2 separate regions of the Homo sapiens genome follow, and region 2 is linked to region 1. Evidence: promoter capture Hi-C in 16 types of primary human blood cells and fetal thymus (Javierre and others, 2016). All regions are on one chromosome and are shown on one strand. Each heading gives the region's core, a stretch centred on a gene start or on the middle of the fragment in contact. The rest is flanking DNA. Distances are from core to core; before and after follow the strand shown.

Region 1 (4,065 bases), core at 723-3,222:
AATCTTAAGTGCATTCTGAAGTCCTGCTGTCTTTTTTTTTTTTTTTTTTTTTTTGCGACGGAGTCTCACTCTGTCGCCAGGCTGGAGCGCAGTGGCGCCATCTCGGCTCACTGCAACCTCAGCCTCCCAGGTTCAAGGGATTCTCCTGTCTCAGCCTCCCGAGTAGCTGGGATTACAGACACCTGCCATCACGCCCAACTAATTTTTGTATTTTTAGTAGAGACGGGGTTTCACCTTGTTGGTCAGGCTGGTCTCGATCTCTTGACCTCGTGATCCGCCCGCCTCGGCATCCCAAAGTGCTGGGATTACAGGCGTGAGCCACCGCACCCGGCCTCTGTCTTAAACATCATAAAAACATAAGAACCCAAAAAAGATGGAGGGGAGTGCGCCCTTAGCTGCCCCAAACTGGCGTGGTGGGAGGCAGGGCAATTGGTCTAGTTTTCTGAGCCGTAGGATTAGGGCTCTGGGTGAGGCCAGAGTCCCTAAAGTTGTACCCATATCTGCGTGTTTGTATTTCCTGTTTGTAATTCCTCCTGTTTGTACTTTTTGTCTCTTATACGGTACACTTAAAGTTTCTCCACAAGGTGTTTCAGCATAAAGTACTCAAAAACTAAAAACGTTTAATTTCATTATTAGGTTAAGTGTGTAAAAAATGCCCCATCAAGGTTCTTGTACAAACTCCCATTATTCTCCCAGACTCCGAAGTGGCACTCCAGAATAATTTTACGTGGGTTAGCATCTTTTATAAAACGGGCAGGCAGAGCGGCTTATGAAATTAACCTTGGAAACCACGCGGCCACTCTTTCGGGAAATGCCTCCTATTTATGTTTACATGGGCCAGCAAGAGAATCCAAGGTTGGAAAGGTCATTCCTCACTACAGAGGCTCATCGCAATCACAGTTCCGTCTCCAAATTCGAGTTTTGGGTGTGAAGAGTTTATAAAGTCCAGCCGCTGTCCTCGCAGTGTTTGGGGTTAGCGGAGGGAGAGCTTGTTTGCGACCAAACTTGCCGCGCGGGGCGGCCGCTTGCAGGAACACTGCGGCCTTGTGCGCTCGGCGGTCTGAGCTCCTGCGAGGCCGAGAACGACGCCTAGCGCCCAGCGGCCTCCGCGAACAAAAAGCGACCGGTCGGAAGGTGCTGGCCCAGCCGCCCCTGGCGCTCGAGCCCGAATCCGGCCACAGACCATGAAGGGACGCCCGGCACCACGTGCGCGGGGATCCGCGGACGGGACGCTCCCCGGCACCTCCGGGGCTGGGCCGGCACCGCACGGTCCCACCCAGACAGTAGCTGCCCCGGGCCCCCAAAACAGCCGCTCCTAGCTCCTCCCTCCCAGCTCTGCGGTGGCCCAAGCCGCCCTCCGCGCGCTTGACCCAGAACAGTACGGAGTTCTGCACGAGCCGGGGGTGGGGCCTGTCTCAGCGCGCGGCGGTGGGGCGGGGCTTGGACACGGGCCCGGCTCAACTTGAGGGAGGCGGGGCTCGAGGCTCAGAGGAGTTGGAGCCCGCTCTGCGCGCTGCGGGACGGGGCACGGCGGAGCAGGGTTGGGTCCGCCTCGAGCGGGGAGGGTGATGCTGCACCACAGGGGCGGGGCTGGAGGTAAAGCGCGGAGCGGAGAGGGACCAGGCTCGGCACTGATTTGTGTTCAGGGCTAGCCCAGAGGGGCGGGGCCAGGTACGGGGCGCAGCCGGGAGCGGGAGGGGCGGTGCAGGACGGGGCCGGGCACGGCGCGGGAAGAGGCCAGGAGCAGCAACGGGTGCGGGGCGGGGCCGGGAGCGTCAAGGGGCGGGGAAGAGGGGGGAATGGGCGGGGCCGAGCTCTGCGAGGGGCGAGGTGGGGAATGCAGAGCGGGGCCGGACGCGGGAGCAGGGAGCTGGGCGGGGAGCGGGGCGGGGAGCTGGGCTGGGCTCGGCACGGGGCGGGGCGGAGGGTGGGGAGCGGAAAGCAGGACGCACGGCTCCCGCGGCCCGCTGGCTGCCCTTCCCGCCAGCGCAGGTGTGGGACGGGCGGCGGACTAGGCACAGAGCTGCGGGAGCAGGCACAGGGAGTGTGGAGCCTGGCGGCGGGACGGCGGGATCCGGTGGGAGCCGGAGTCCCGCCGAGGGGGGCTGGAGGTGGAGGGGCCCGGCGAGGCCGCGATGAAGCCGAGCGGCGAGGACCAGGCGGCGCTGGCGGCCGGCCCCTGGGAGGAGTGCTTCCAGGCGGCCGTGCAGCTGGCGCTGCGGGCAGGACAGGTGAGCGCCACGGCTGGGCTCGGAAGTCCGGGCGGAGCAGAAGCGCGTGGGCCTTGGGAGCCGCCTGGAGTGGCGGGGTCCTGGCGCGCAGCCGGCGGGCGCCCAGGGTCCGCACCCGAGGGCGCGGGGCGCGGAGCGGTGAAAGGAGCCTTTGTGCTGGTGTCCTGGACACACCTCCCGCGCCCTTCTCCAACTCCCGGAGCCCTGGCGGCGAGCCCCTCTGCTTTGGAGTTCAGCGGCTAACGTGACCTTTGCGTTTGAGTGAGTGGTCAGAATGTAGAAATCTCTCCAGGGGTAGCGTACGGGGCTGTTGATTTTTAAGGACCTATGAACGGATTCAGCTCGCGGTAGGAAGCCCGGGGCTAAGCCCCAGCCGCGTGGGGATCTGGCTGGGCTGCCGTTTGATTGTCCTGGCTGCAGCATCCTCAACCCAAACTTACTCTGACCCACACCCTGAAAGTGGCTCAGCTCCGCGACGGCCACGGACTCAGAGTTCAGGAGGAACTTGTTACACTGCCCGGAAGGATGAAAACCGAGCCGCAGAGCTACCGAAAACCAGCGAGCAGAGTTTAAAATGGAGTGCAGTTCCTCTCTTCTCTTTTTCATTTTTGTGATTGTTCCTTCCACTTTCCTCAGTACCTTTAGCAGTGCCTGACACACCGACGGTAGTGGTAGGCAAGCGAGTGTTGGTTCTCCCAGGACTGTAAGATGGCTTACTCCATGTTTGTCTCTTAGGATGTGATTGTGGGCCGGGCGCAGTGGCTCACGCCTGTAATCCCAGCACTTTGGGAGGCCGAGGCGGGTGGACCACTTGAGGTCAGGAGTTCGAGACCAGCCTGACCAACATGGTGAAACCCCGTCTCTACTGAAAATACAAAATTAGCTGGGCATGGTGGCGCGTGCCTTAGTTCCAGCTATTTGGGAGGCTGAGGCAGGAGAATCACTTGAACCTGGGAGGCGAAGGTTGCAGTGAGCTGAGATCGCGCCATTGCACACCAGCCTGGGCAACAAGAACAAAACTCCGTCTCAAAAAAAAAAAAAAAAAGTGATTGTTTTCGGGGATTTTAGAGACAGGAGGTGTGCTGAGAGCAGATTGGCCTTTTATATTCAAACATTTGTTTTCTTTTTTGAGGTCTGACAGTCCGAAAATGCTCTACCAGTTTCCCTAGATGTTGAAATCGGACTGTTATCAATCTTAAATTTGAAGTGAGTCGTCATAAAGTGGATAGTGCTTTACCTTGGTGCAAATCCTCTAATCCTGTTTAAAAATTAATCTGCAATACTAAGTAGACTCATTTTTTGTTGAAGGGCCTTCCTTCCCTTTGTAGTTTGAAGAACCCAAGCCTCAGACCGTAAAGAATGAATGAATTTAAGAGTGTTGCGAAACTCCACCCTTTGACCTTTCCCTCCTGTAGGAAAAGGAGGACCCTAAACCTTCCTGCAAGGCAGATGAAGCTTGTAGCTTCAGTGCAAGCGTTCTTCCTGGAAAGCAGAGCTGCTGTGTGCATGGAACACGGGTTCTCCTTCCATCCTTCCCTGCCTCCCAGCTTTCCTTCCAGAGCAAGCATCAGCCAGATATTTAGGAACTTTTAGGTTCTACTGTAAAACTTTTCTTCCTTGAGGCAGTGAAAAGCCAGCTTAGGATTCAGACATTGCTGTGTAAACCCTGGCGAGCTAAGTTAGGAGTTTCTGTGGTTTTCAAATTTAGATCCTTGAAGAAACAGAAGATTTTAAAATTTTATGTTATTATTTAACAAATGTGCATAAAGAGCTTGCAATAGAGCAGGAACAGTTCTAAGGCTCCTATGACTTTTAACTTAAGAGATATTTTATG
Region 2 (4,065 bases), core at 525-3,024, 1.5 Mb before region 1:
AACGTGCACTTCTTGAGGAATTCTTAATTTGGAAGACATGTTATTTAAAAAAATTCATTAATGCAGTTTGTGAATGAGTAATTCACAAACTTCATTAATGAGTCATGTTTTATGTTGTATTCTTTCAATTTTGCCTACTTTATATTTGTACAAAATGTAACTGCGTGAATATATCCTCCTTGAAAGAAAATGATTGCTGTATATCTATGGGATGTGGTTTTCAAGAGAGAACATTTATAGGTTGGCACTAGGCTATCTGCAAGTGGTCTAATGAAATACATGACGGGTTTCCACTAAGCCAATTCAGTGTGTTGGTTTTATCTTTTATTCAAAGATAGCTTGCAAAGGAAGATCTGTATTTTTCTCTCTCTTTAAAAATAATATTCATCAAAACGGTTGTGTTCGTTAGAGTGGATTTAACAGAGATCTGTTGTTAAACATTTACAATGCTTCATCTCTTTCCAACATTACTGTACTCGGACAATGCTGCCTCACTTTGTGTACAAAACAGTGAGAGAGATCGCTTTTATGTGGAAAGTTCAGTTATGAATGCGAAATGTTGCCAGAATCTGACTGTAATCCCAAGAGGCAGAAACTAACCACTTTTGTTTGGACGGCTTGCAGCTTGTAAAGGCACGTGCAGGCAGCGCCACCATGTGTTTTCTGAAGAGACCCATAAGGCTACGCGGGAGAAGGAATGAACGCCAGGACTCTCCCCAGCCAACGTATACCTAAGTGGGACTTCTCAGTATAATATGCTTGGCGCATCTGTTAGGGGTGGCCCTTTCTCAGCCATTTGACAACTTACTTCAGTCAAACCTAATAAACTTCCAACTCTCATTTTCCAATTATTATTAAAATTTCAAAGCAGGTAGGTGTAAAGTACCAGGTATGTAGTAAACTGACTATTTTTTCCCCCATAAAAACATTTGAAAATTAATAATTGGTCCATACAACTAAGCAGCGGTGTTGCGTGAGTGGTTATTAAACTATTACAAAATAAGGACCATTTTCTGGTCCATTATAGTGGGCCAAGTATAAATTTGGAGTCAGATGGGTCTGGGTTCAAGTCCCCATCTTCCCGTTTACTTGCTGTGTGACCTTAGGAAAGTTACTTAGCTTCTCTGACCTTCAGTCCTCATATGTGAGATGGGATAACAACAGTGTTTCTAAAGCACTTTGTAGAGTTTCTGGCAAATGGTGACCAGGGGCCCTAGGGTTTAGTGGAGGTTTTAGCTGCCAGCATCCATCAGGTGCCTGGGAGCTCAGGCAAGCTCCACGCTGCTAATCCCACTCTCACTCCAGGCACCTTTGGCACCCGTCTCCCCACCGACCCCACCTGGCCCAGCTTCCTGCTGCGCTGGAAGCTATGCTATGGTTAGGGGATGCCAGTCTACCTGGTCTTCAATGGCTGGCACCTGTGGGTGTGGCCCCGTTCTCTTTCTCCTTTTCAAACATTCATTCTCTTGCTTTGATTTTGAAATTCAATTGAAAATAAAAAAATTAATAATGATGGTTCTGTGAAAGGTTAGAGCAGGAGAGGTTGAGAGGAATGTGGAGAAAGCCCAGCAAAAAGAAGCAAATACAAGCCAAAGAAATCACTGGAAAGGGCTGGGTGCAGGGGGGTGCACTGGTGATCCCAGCACTCTGGGAGGCTGAGGCAAGAGGGTTGCTTGAGCCCAGAAGTTTGAGATCAGCCTGGGCAACATAGTGAGGCCTTGTCGCTACTAAAAATAATAATAAAAAATAGCCAGGTGTGGTGGCACATACCCACAGTCCCAGTTACTTGGGAGGTTGAGGCAGGAGGATTGCTTGAGGCTAGGAGTTTGAGGCTGCAGTGAGCCATGATTATGCCACTGCACTCCAACCTGGGTGACAGAGTAAGACCCTGTCTCTAAAAAAAAAGAAAGAATAATTTAAAAAAGAAAGAAAGAAAGAAAGAAAAGAAATTACCTTGAAGAAGGGCCATGGCCAGACTTGAGAGAAAACACCTTCCAAGTGTCCAAATGCTTCTTCCTCTTCTTCCGTAATGACACAGGACTTTCAGCCAAAATTGACTGAGTTCTGCTCTGGAATTCGCACTGCACTGTGTTCTGAACACAGATGGTGAGTGCAGTCACAGACGATGGCAACTAACAGACTACGCGGTGGCTGTGGACAGGGAGATGAGGAGACGTGGTTGCCTCTGGGCACTTTTTGGAGGCAAAGTCGACAGAATTTCCTACAGATTGCATGTGTTGTGCGACAGAAAGAGCAGAGGAGCATGACTCCAAGTGTTTGGGCAAGGAGAGGGTGAAGCTGCCATGAACCCAGCATGGCTGAGCCTGAAGGGAGAGCAGGTATGGGAGCATCAGGAGCTCAGATTTGAACAGATTATGTATGACATTTTAGATGTCTAGGTGGAGCTGCTAAGAAGGCATTGGACACAGGAATCTGGAGAACGAATTCTCCATATTAATCTCATAGAGATTCAGTGGTGATTTTTAAAAGTCAATGTATTCATTAACACTTAACCAGAAAAAAAAATACAGATCATAATGGCTTCTATTAGTTTTATCAGAAAAAAAGCCAAGAACAATCTTCTAAAATCCTATTCTGATGAAAGGAACTGTCAAATGATAGCAGAATTTGTTCCAAAGGTTTTTTGTAAATTCGTTATTTATAACTCAGAATATATTTTCCCAGAGAAATGATTTTATGATTCATGGCTAACCTCTTGGGCTGGGTCTCAGAAGTGTATCTCTTGTATAACATAACAGTATATTTGTGGGGGAAAAGGGTAAAATTACACAGTCAGGCTACTAGCAATTAAACAAACAAAGAAAACTTAGCGATATAGGAGCTCTTATGTTTCCTTATTTATGATTCCTGATTTGAAATAGAGCTCATTTGACCCATCAAACCCTCTCTCCAAGAAATGACAAAGACCTTTTATTTGACTGGAACATTCAGCTGTGGGAGGTAGGTCCAAGGATTTTGCTTCCTGGCAGCAGACTAGGCTAGGGGAAGGAAGCAGGTTTGTGTAGACAAGGAACCTGGGGATGCAGGCTTAAAGAACTCTCAGAGACTTAAGCCCACCATGAGAGAAGGAATGGGGTTTGCAAGCTCTATTTTAAGCCTCATTCACACTTTGATGTGAATCATTTTAGTCACATCCAAAACAAGTAGATCACTCAGGAATGCACATTTTTATTGAGGCAGGATAAAGAAAAAGAGTTTCTAGAACTAGAGGAGAGGATTGGCTCAGATGGAATCACTTGGGCCAGCAGCCAGCAAGTCTGTATGTTGACGGGGTAGGTGAGGGAGGACATGAGCGTCTAAAGAGCCTTAGGAGAGGAGGCAAGAGGTAAGTTGAAGTCACAAAGACAACTTTTGCTGAGGTTCTGGTGGTAGCTGCTGTGATAACAAGAATTACGTTTATGGGTCAACAAGGCCTGGGGTCACACTATCGATTCTAGCTTGGGAAACTACACGTCTTAGTCTATCATCATTTGGTCCATGCTTTCCATTCTCAGTTCTTCTAAGCTGACTTCTCAGTTTAAATTCCCCTTGCTCAACTCCCACCTCAATGTTATTGCAGGAAGAGAAGGGGAGGGGAAGAAAGTGGGGGCATTTGTGTTACACCTTTACTGTGCCCATTCTCTCTCTTCTTCTCCCCTTTACTATGAATGCATGTTAGCACATACTTACCACGGCTTCCCTGGTCAAGGGTCCTTTGAAACATAGAACCCTTGAATGCCCATGGCTATTGATATAGCTCCAACGAATGGAGGAACACCAGGGTTGTTGGTCTCGTGCTGATAGGATTAACAACACGGACACGTGGAGTGGTTTTAAGGAGTGAAAAGTTTAATAGGCAAGAAAGAAGGAAGGAAGAAGAAAACACCTCCCCCATACAGAGACAGAGGTAGGGAGGATTTGAACAAAGAGAAAACCCAGTGTGCAGTGGAAAAGTGGTTGCTTATATTGGGATCCTGGAGGAGGTGGTGTCTGGTTTGCATAGGGCCCAGGGGATTGGTTTGACCAGGTGTGTCATTTACATAGCTCTCGAAAAACCTGGCCCTC

Evidence for each region. The method cuts DNA at HindIII sites, captures the fragments that hold promoters and counts their contacts. A CHiCAGO score of 5 or more calls a contact.
Region 2: a fragment that was not itself captured here is called in contact with the fragment with the promoter of IMPA2 in region 1 in 1 of 17 cell types (total CD4 T cells); the score reaches 5.5 in total CD4 T cells.

Annotation. Positions count from the first base shown.
Region 1 is chr18:11,979,535-11,983,599 of GRCh38, forward strand. IMPA2 (inositol monophosphatase 2) reads left to right here and starts at 1,973. Exons shown (of 8, transcript NM_014214.3): 1 at 1,973-2,231. The coding sequence starts at 2,136. RefSeq lists silencers at 896-1,190, 1,031-2,510. The HindIII fragment of the contact is 12,350 bases long and covers 1-3,684 here.
Region 2 is chr18:10,519,631-10,523,695 of GRCh38, forward strand. No RefSeq gene overlaps it. Among named protein-coding and RNA genes, the nearest start is that of NAPG, 4.4 kb to the right of the region's middle. The HindIII fragment of the contact is 4,914 bases long and covers 1-4,065 here.